2 separate regions of the Homo sapiens genome follow, and region 2 is linked to region 1. Evidence: promoter capture Hi-C in human tissues and cell types (Jung and others, 2019). All regions are on one chromosome and are shown on one strand. Each heading gives the region's core, a stretch centred on a gene start or on the middle of the fragment in contact. The rest is flanking DNA. Distances are from core to core; before and after follow the strand shown.

Region 1 (4,826 bases), core at 1,128-3,627:
CACTCCAGCCTATGTGACATAGTGAGATCCCTTCTCAAAAAAAAAAAAAAAAAAAAAGAAAAGAAAAGAAAAGGAAAGTGCAAAGAGTAGGGAGTCTGGTTCTGGCCTCTAAAACCAATGAAGGATTAATCATCCCTTTCTTGATTTCTAGAGCTGGTTTCTGCTTACTCCTTAGGAAAGAATTCTGTTTAAAGGTTAATAAGGAAGGGGCATATTGAGGTGTGTTGGACTTCCCATCTCATCATAGCCAGGAATTCAGTTTTTTTTTTCTTTCTTTTTTTTTTTTTTCAAAGAGTCTTGCTTTGTTGCCCAGGCTGGAGTGCAGTGGTGCGATCTTGGCTCACTGCAAGCTCTGCCTCCCGGGTTCACGCCATTCTCCTGCCTCAGCCTCCCTAGTAGCTGGGACTACAGGCGCCCGTCACCACGCCTAGCTAATTTTTTGTATTTTTAGTACAGGTGGGGTTTCACCGTGTTAGCCAGGATGGTCTCGATCTCCTGACCTCGTGATCCGCCCGCCTTGGCCTCTCAAAGTGCTGGGATTACAGGCGTAAGCCACTGCGCCCGGCCGGGAACTCAGTTTTTAAGGTTGCTCTAGTGTCCCCTTAGCCACGATGGGGTCCATTAAGTTGGTTGGGGTGGTACTTAAAATTTTTATTTCTCAGTCTCAAAAATGTCATTTTACAGTTTGTTTGAATCAGGATCCAAACAAGCTGCACTCATTGCATTTGAATATATTTCTTTTTTTTTTCTCAAGAGGGAGTCTTGCTCTGTTGCCCAGGGTGGAATGCAGTGGCACAATCTTGGCTCACTGCAACTTCTGTCTCCTGGGTTCAAGCGATTCTCCTGTCTCAGCCTCCTGAGTAGCTGGGGGCTACAGGTGTGCACCACCATGCCTGGCTAATTTTTGTATTTTTTGTTGGAGACGGGGTTTCACCATGTTGCCCAGGCTGGTCTTGAACTCCTGACCTCAAGTGATCCTCAGAGTGTTGGGATTACAAGTGTGAGCCACTGTACCTGGCCAACATTTGAATATATTTCTTAAATCTCTTATAATCTAAAACATCTCTCCTCATTTTTATACCCTAAAATTGTTGAAGGAAGAAGAGGTCATTTATTCTGTACATTGGCTCACATTCTGGATTTGTTTGATTGCTTTCTTGTAGTGTTATACAGTTGTTTCTCTTTATTTCTTGTTAACTGGAAATTACAGCCAAAACTTGATTAGAGTCACTCAACTTTTTTTTTTACAAAAATACGCTATACTTCATAAATATTTCTGTTCAATTGCATCACATCAAGAAACAATGCTCAGCTGTCCCATGTTTCGTGATCTAAGATTGATTAGTACATGTAGGTTATCTTCAGTGTACATCCTTCAGTGTAAAATTCTCCCATAAATTATCTAATACTTTTAGCATCCATCAACGACTGTTGACTAAATAAGTTATTTATTGAGATCCTTCCTCTGGTCCAGACTGTTTTCATCAGATTAGTTTTATCTTTGTCCCCTTTATTTCTGTAGCCAATTGCCTAGGAAAGATCCTTTCATCTTCCAGCTTTCTTAGATCTCCAAATCTCTCAGGTCTACGGACATCTGAGGCAGGAGCGCGATCTGGCTTGCCTGGGGAGCTAACGAGATAAGGAATTGAGTCAGTATTTCCTAACGTTCACACTTGAAGCCCATAAAGCAGGCAGGTGGTTTTAATTTTGCCCCGCTGGGTGGGTTGGGGTTAGGGAAGGATGGGTTAGAGGGAGGCAGAGTGAATCGGGCAATCTCCCCTTTCCTGCGGTCAAACTCAAAGGCTTTTTCTAGAAATCCTTCAACTGAGCCTGGGCCCTTTGATTTTCAATTGAGGCAAGGCCAAAGAGTCCAGGCCAGGCGTGGGGGCTCCCGTTGTAATCCCAGCGACCAGGAGGCTGATGCAGGAGGATCACTTGAGGCCAAGAGTTTAAGACCAGTCTGGGTAACATAGTGAGACCCTGTCCTGAGAAAAAAAATTTAAAAATAGCCCAGCATGGTGGCGTGCCTGTAGTCCCAGCTACTCGGAAGGCTGGGGGCGGGCGGATCGCTTGAGCAGGAGTTCAAGTTCGCAGTGAGCTATGATCACGTCGCTGCACTCCAGCCTGGGCGACAGAGCGAGATTCTGTCTCTAAAAAAGAAAACAGTCCATAGGGAGTAGGTGGAATTAGAGTAGAAAGAGAGAGTCCTGGATGCTCCGAATGGAGCCTTTCAGAGCTTTAACCACGGGACTACATCTCCCAGAATTCCGCTCGCCGGATCCCACCGCACTGAAGGGACTGCGCGTGCGCGAGTCAGGTGACGACCCGCCCCTACAGGCCCCAGAACCCCCGAGATTCCCCGCGCTTGCCTCCCGCCCTCTTCTTCCAGACTCTCGGTCTGTCCGCTGGGGGCGCGCGCGGTGTGTGGCAGGCGGCAGCGGCGCTGGCGGCCGAGTGCGCTTGTCACGCGTGGCGGTGCGTGGTTGCTAGGGGCGCCTGAGGCTGCCGGGTAGCCCAGCAGGCCGAGGGAGGAAGTAGCGTGGAGCCGGTGCCGAGCCGGGGCGAAGCTGGATCCCCTAGGTGAGTGCGGCTGCGGAGCCAGGGGAGCCGACCCCAGACACTCCGCCGGTCCCACGCTCCCGACCTCCCTCTACCTGAGTCCTTTCGCGCGGGTCCCCAGCCCTCCGGCCACTCTCACCCTAGCCCCGCTTCCTCCCGCCACCTCTCATCCCCCGGGAGGCCAGGGAGCCGCGGCCTCCTACCCGGCCGGGACTTCGCGCCTCCTCGGAGCCCTTCTCCTCTCCGCCACGCCCCGCGAACTTAGTCGGCCTCGCCTCCGGGTGCCCGAACACTGCCTCATCCCCTAGTTATGGCCTCCGAGCTTCCTCTGTCCTGCCGCGCTGAGGTTTAAATTCCCTCTGGGTGTGAGCCCAAGCTCCTCGCAGGCTCCAGGGCCGAATTTAACATGGATATCTGCTTTTTCACTTCTCCATCCTCAGTATCTGTAGAAGAATACGTTCCTAAACTCCACAGATTCAAACAGGATCTGAGATCCTGTGGAATTTAATTCTTCATTCATCAATTCCTTTATTTAATCATTCACTAAACAATTTTTAGTAAACATTGACAAATATTTAATGAGCCTGGGTACAATGGGAGGGATTGAGGGGATAGAGTGGCTAATAGGACAAGCATGTTTTCACGGAATTTACAGTCTAGGAGATTATTAATCAAGTAAACGAGCATTTGCCATACTGTGGTGTGTGCTGTGATAGAACAGGAAATACTTAATCCGGACTTACTTAGAAAACGACATTATTGCCATTCCTCCTGGTCTTCACATTCCCATTCTGGATCTCGGAAATATTTTAATCCTTCCTTGATGAAATCTTCTTTGCTTTCTCAGATACTACAAATCACCTATTCTTTAACTGCAGCACCTGTTGATTTAGCATTTGGGGGACCCTTTGGGACAGTGTTCCATCCCATCCTTCTGTTTCTTGCACTGAATACTGAGACACTGTTTGCATTTAAACCACCCACTTTGTGCTCAGAAAGTTAGCAGCTACTTATATTGGACTGAATCAATCCTTGAAAAATTATCAAGTGTTTTCTGCGAATAGAGAGGTGGGAGGACATTCCAGATACACAGTGGCTTTAGGAAAGGGACAGCAAGTCCTGAAAAGAGAACTGGAAACAGTTTGACAGACCTGGGCTAGATTTGGAGGGAGCCATCCAGTAACAAATAGAAAGAGTGAAGTTAATAGGGGTTAGATCACAAAGGGCCTTGGATGTTTTGCTGAGTTAGAACTATATCCCTGGAGCAGTGGTTTTCAAGCTGGAGTAATCAGGGTTGTAGACTTCCAAGGGATACACTTGCACGTCTAGCTTAACATGAATACATTTCCAGATCCTCAGCTTCCCAGTGAACTTTTTTTTTTTTTTTTGAGACAGAGTCTTGCTCCGTCACCCAGGCTGGAGTGCAATGGCACGATCTTGGCTCACTGCAACTTCCACCTCCTGGGTTCAAGCGATTCTCCTACCTCATTCTCCGGAGTAGCTGGGATTAGAGGCGCATGCTGCCACGCTCGGTTAATTTTTTGTATTTTTTAGTAGAGACGGGGTTTCACCATCTTGGCCAGGCTGGTCTCAAACTCCTGACCTCGTGATTCACCCGCCTCGGCCTCCCAAAATGTTGGGATTACAGGTGTGAGCCACCGCGCCCGGCCCCAATGAACTCTTTTTCTAAAACTTCCCTTACAAAAAAAGGGTAGGAGGCTGTGTGTGGCAAATCCCTCACACTTCCCAAATTTTAATATGGTGTATTGGCCTGAGTGTAAAAATGTCCTCAGATACAAATAAGGACTACTTTGGAAATATTTATTTTCAGGAACACCTCCTTTAGTGATTTAAGTTACCTCCCAACCCAGAAGGCTTGCCAATACACAATCCCATTCGTGTAAACTGTATTCTTTGTTAAGATATTCTGAAAAGAACACAACAGTTAAATGTAACGGGAATGTCTTTTGGGACAATGGAATTTTTAAGTTATTTGGATAAAACTTGCGTAAAATTTTTAAAGAGATTTCTTTTAGTTCAGGTGTGTGTTACTCAGTAAGATAGTTAATACCTATTTTAAGACTGGGTGTTGTGGCTCACACCTGTAAATCCAACACTTTGGGAGCCTGAGGCAGGCTGATCGCTTGAGACCCAGGAATTCGAGACCAGCCTGGGCAACATGGCGAAACCTCTTCTCTACAAAAAAAAATATGTAAAAATTAGCCAAGCATGGTAGCGTGCTCTTATAGTCCCAGCTATTTGTAGGC
Region 2 (4,826 bases), core at 1,594-4,093, 280 kb before region 1:
GGGGAGGGGGGTTCCTTCCAGTTTAGCGGGCAGAGAGTAGTTCACAGTGGGAGGGTTCACTCTGTTCATTCATTCATCCATCTCTCACTCCTTCCCTCCCCCTCTCTTCCTTATTGAGCAAAGTCACTGTGCTAGACACTGCGGATTTGGTACTAAACAAGCGGAAATGGTCCCTGAGTGGGGAGTAACCCTCTGTGCTCCCCCAAGCCCCTGAGCCTGCGACCTCCTGGCACTGTTGGGAGTTCTCTAGGGGCAGGCTGGAAGGGCAGCATCCGAACTCAGGGTGCCCCTGCTCCCAACGCCTTCTCCCCCAGGCTCACTCACCATGACCAAGCTGAGCGCCCAAGTCAAAGGCTCTCTCAACATCACCACCCCGGGGCTGCAGATATGGAGGATCGAGGTGAGGCCCTGTCTGGGCATGGGGGCTGCTCAGGCCTGGGGTGGAGGGAGGCAAGGCCAAGGAGGGAGGCCTGGGATTTCTCTTCGTTTCCTCTGCTCCTGCCCTGAAGCCCCTGAGAGCTCAGCCCCTCACCTCCCGCATCATCCACACCCCGGCTGGTCTCCCTTTCCCTTTCTCCATTTCTTCTCCCTCTGTCTCTCAACCTTCCTCTCCACTTCCTCTTCCTCACTCATCCCTTCCTTTCCCTCCATTGATTTTCCTTCTCCCGCCCCTCACAGTTTTCTTCTCCTCTCTTCCTTTTCTCTCCTTTCATTCCTGGGCCCGGCTCTTTGTCTCCGACGCCTCCTCCCCTTGGGCCCTCCTCCCAGGCCTAGGGGTCCTGGTGGTCCAGGGCAGCCCCTCTGACCCTCTTTCTCTCCTTAGGCCATGCAGATGGTGCCTGTTCCTTCCAGCACCTTTGGAAGCTTCTTCGATGGTGACTGCTACATCATCCTGGCTGTGAGTCAGGGGCAGGGGAGGGGGCTGAGCAGAGAGCAAAACCCACTGTGGTGTCAGGGAGGAAACAGGCTGGGGGCCGTGGGGAGAGTTGGCCTGGCTTCACCCCAAGACACAATTTACTGGGTATGCCCAAGTGCCCAACCCTGTGGGGGCTTCACAGAGGTCAGAGGCTCTTGCTGCCCTTGATCCACTGAGCTCCCAGCTGAGGTCAACTTCTGTGGATTCACAGTCTTGGGGAAACTTCTGAGTTGTTGCCGTATCACCCTAACTTGAGTCCACATTTCCACAATCCATAGTCATCTTCTTTTTTTAAAATTTTTTTCCGGATGGAGTCTCACTCTGTCACCCAGGCTGGAGTGCAGTGGAGCGACCTCGGCTCACTGCAACCTCCACTTCCCGGGTTCAAGCGATTCTCCTGCCTCAGCCTCTTGAGTAGCTTGGACTACAGGCACGTGCCACCACAGTCAGCTAATTTTTTTGTATTTTTTAGTAGAAACGGGGTTTCACCATGTTGATCAGGCTGGTTTCGAACTCTTGACCTCAGGTGATCCACTCGCCTCAGCCTCCCAAAATGCTGGGATTACAGGCATGAGCCACCATGCCCAGCCTGGCAGTCATCTTCATATCACCTTGATTTTCACCATACCCTGGTACCACCTGTACTATTAAGACATTTGTATTTTTTTCTTTATATTGACTCATTTTAAATTTTTATTTTATTTTATGTATTTATTATTATTATTTTTTGAGACAGAGTCTCGCTCTGTCGCCCAGGCTGGAGTGCAATGGCACAATCTTGGCTCACTGCAAACTCTGCCTCCTGGATTCAAGCGATTCTCGTGGCTCAGCCTCCTGAGTAGCTGGGATTACAGGCATCTGCCCCCACACCTGGCTAATTTTTGTATTTTTAGTAAAGACAGGGTTTTGCCATGTTGGCCAGGCTGGTCTTCAACTCCTGACCTCAGGTGATCCACTTGCCTCGACCTCCCAAAGTGCTGGGATTACAGGCGTGAGCCACTGTGCCTGGCACAAGCAAGTTATTTCTGAGATGAGGCAAGGGAGGCCCAGAGAGGAGAAGCCATGTCTCAGAGAGTCAATGGTAGAGCTGGGCCATGACTCAGGGCTCCTAACCGCCAGCCTAGTGCACTTGCCCTGTGCCACGCTCCCCCATAGTCCTGGACGGCACGTGTGTGGGAGGTCACACAGAGCTGGAGGGGCTGTGGGAGCCCAGGGTCTCGGGTACACTGGACACCTTTTCCCTAGATCCACAAGACAGCCAGCAGCCTGTCCTATGACATCCACTACTGGATTGGCCAGGACTCATCCCTGGATGAGCAGGGGGCAGCTGCCATCTACACCACACAGATGGATGACTTCCTGAAGGGCCGGGCTGTGCAGCACCGCGAGGTCCAGGGCAACGAGAGCGAGGCCTTCCGAGGCTACTTCAAGCAAGGCCTTGTGTAGGGAGGGTGGGCTGCAGGCCGGGGGAATGAGGATGAGTGGTAGGGATAGAGATGTTGGGGCTGAGCTGAAGAGGCAGGGACACCCAGACCTGTTCAGGCCTGGGAAGAACACTTGGAGCAGGGGGAGGTGACCTGGGGCGGGGAAGGGACCCTGAAGCTGTGGGGGGAGGCACGAGGGGGACCCTCATGAGTTTTTGGTGATTGTCCCTCACCTTTCCACTCCCTAACTCTTATTTCTGCCACTGCTCTGTCCTTGGTCTGGAGGCTGTTCTGAAATTCTATAACTCTCGTGAATCTCTGTAAATCAGCTCCTACTTGAATGTCCTGGAGAGCTCAGTGCCTAATCAAGCCCCCCAACTCTGGCCAACGGGCAAATGGCTGCTCCCCCATCTCTAATGCAGGCCTATCACACTAAAAACCAAGACCGACAGCTTTTCTTTTTCTTCCTTTTTTTTTTTGAGATGGAGTCTTGCTTTGTTGCCCAGGCTGGAGTACAGTGGCACAGTCTTGGCTCACTGCAAACTCCGCCTCCTGGGCTCAAGCGATTCTCATGCCTCAGCCTCCCCAGTAGCTGGGATTACAGGCACACACCACCAGGCCTGGCTAATTTTTGTATTTTTAGTAGAGACAGGGTTTCACCACGGGCAGGCTGATCTCAAACTCCTGACCTCAAGTGATCCATCTGCCTCAGTCTCCCAAGGTGCTGGGATTATAGGCGTGAGCCACTTCGTCTGGCCCCACCTCAGCCTCTTGAGTAACTGGGACTACAGGCCCGAGCCACCATGCCCAGCTAATTTTTTTTTTTGAGACAGAGTCTTGTTCTGCCGCCCAGGCTGGAGTGCAGTGGCGCGATCTCAACTCACTGCAAGCTCTGCCTCCCAGGCTCACGCCATTCTCCTGCCTCAGCCTCCCCAGCAGCTGGGACTACAGGTGCCCACCACCACGTCCGGCTAATTTTTTTGTATTTTTAGTAGAGACAGGGTTTCACCGTGTTAGCCAGGATGGTCTCAATCTCCTGACCTCATGATCTGCCCGCCTTGGCCTCCCAAAGTGCTGGGATTACAGGCGTGAGCCACCATGCCTGGCCAGCACTAATTTTTTAATATATATATTTTGTAGAGACGAAGGTCTTGCTCTGTTGCCCAGGCTGGTCTCATACTCCTGGGCTCAAGTGATTCTCCCACCTCAGCCTCCTGAAGTCCTGGGATTACAGGCATGAGCTACCACTCCCAGCCCAGACTGCTGGCTTTTCTATACAAGTTGAAGTTCTAGCTTAGCTTTCCCCAGGAAAACACACACTCTGGAGCTGAGTTGTTACTGACCTGTAGGACAGGCTGAGGGCTCTCTAATTAGCCACAGTTCCCACTCTTTTTTTGTCTTGCTCCTCTCTTCCCACGCTATGGCAGTAGTCCACTGCCATGGGCACTGGAGTGGCACCTCTCCATTCTTTTCTTTTCTTCCACTTTGATCCCCTGTCCTCAGGATTCTGTCCCTATTTATTAATACATTTCCTTTTTTTTTTTTTTTGAGATGGAGTCTCACTCTGTCGCTTAGGCTAGAGTGCAATGGTGCGATCTCGGCTCACTGCAAACCTCCGCCTCCTGGGTTCAAGCAATTCTTCTGCCTCAGCCTCCTGAGTAGCTGGGATTACAGGCACCCGCCACCATGCCCAGCTAATTTTTTGTATTTTTAGTAGAGATGGGGCTTCACCATGTTGGCCAGGCTGGTCTGGAACTCCTGACCTCAAATGATCTGCCCACCTCGGCCTCCCAAAGTGCTGGGATTATAGGTGTGAGTCACCGCACCTGGCCTATTAATATATTTCCTACTCTTAATATATCATGACCCTATCTTTGCAGGCCTCTCCACAGGGCAGGGACTAGGGCAAGACGAGTGAAGATCTAGGGTGCAGACTTTAAGGTTGCTCTCACTGTCAGGGTCGTGCAAGGGCATGCCACAGGCAGACCTTGCACTTTCAGGACCTGACAGTGAGTGACTCCCTAAAGTTTGCGCCCTCAGCACCTCATTGACCTCGCCTACTCCCACCCTGGCCCTCACGTGACCCCAGCGTGGCAGCCAGGACCTGGGAGAACAGGGGCCAGGCACACCTCCCAGCCCACTTCCTTGGGTCAGCTCACCTCTCTTCTCAGGATCCGGAAAGGGGGCGTGGCTTCTGGCATGAAGCACGTGGAGACCAACTCCTATGACGTCCAGAGGCTGCTGCATGTCAAGGGCAAGAGGAACGTGGTAGCTGGAGAGGTAGGCAGGCCCCACTGGAGCATCGGCCAGGGCTGTGAGGCCCAGGGTGGAGGGCAGGGGCTGAGGAGGGGTGAGGGGCAGGGAGGGATGGCCAAGATGATGGATGATAGGTGAGCTCTGAGTGGGGTCTGTGCCTCCCCTGTGGCTCCCTAGGTAGAGATGTCCTGGAAGAGTTTCAACCGAGGGGATGTTTTCCTCCTGGACCT

Evidence for each region. The method cuts DNA at HindIII sites, captures the fragments that hold promoters and counts their contacts. A contact is called where the count stands out against the background at its distance.
Region 2: a contact is called between a fragment that was not itself captured here and the fragment with the promoter of TTLL4 in region 1, in 1 of the 25 tissues and cell types used here (aorta).

What each region holds. Positions count from the first base shown.
Region 1 is chr2:218,708,458-218,713,283 of GRCh38, forward strand. It overlaps TTLL4 (tubulin tyrosine ligase like 4), which reads left to right and starts at 2,378. Exons shown (of 20, transcript NM_014640.5): 1 at 2,378-2,580. LOC124907983 (a long non-coding RNA gene) reads right to left here and starts at 3,027. Exons shown (of 2, transcript XR_007088089.1): 1 at 2,763-3,027; 2 at 1,145-1,629. RefSeq lists an enhancer at 2,180-2,279 and silencers at 2,660-2,709, 2,720-2,769. The HindIII fragment of the contact is 14,281 bases long and covers 1-4,826 here.
Region 2 is chr2:218,423,454-218,428,279 of GRCh38, forward strand. It overlaps VIL1 (villin 1), which reads left to right. Exons shown (of 20, transcript NM_007127.3): 2 at 315-400; 3 at 824-898; 4 at 2,162-2,358; 5 at 4,512-4,620; 6 at 4,774-4,826. The coding sequence starts at 326. Among named protein-coding and RNA genes, the nearest start is that of VIL1, 6.7 kb to the left of the region's middle. RefSeq lists an enhancer at 953-1,453 and a silencer at 2,336-2,553. The HindIII fragment of the contact is 4,827 bases long and covers 431-4,826 here.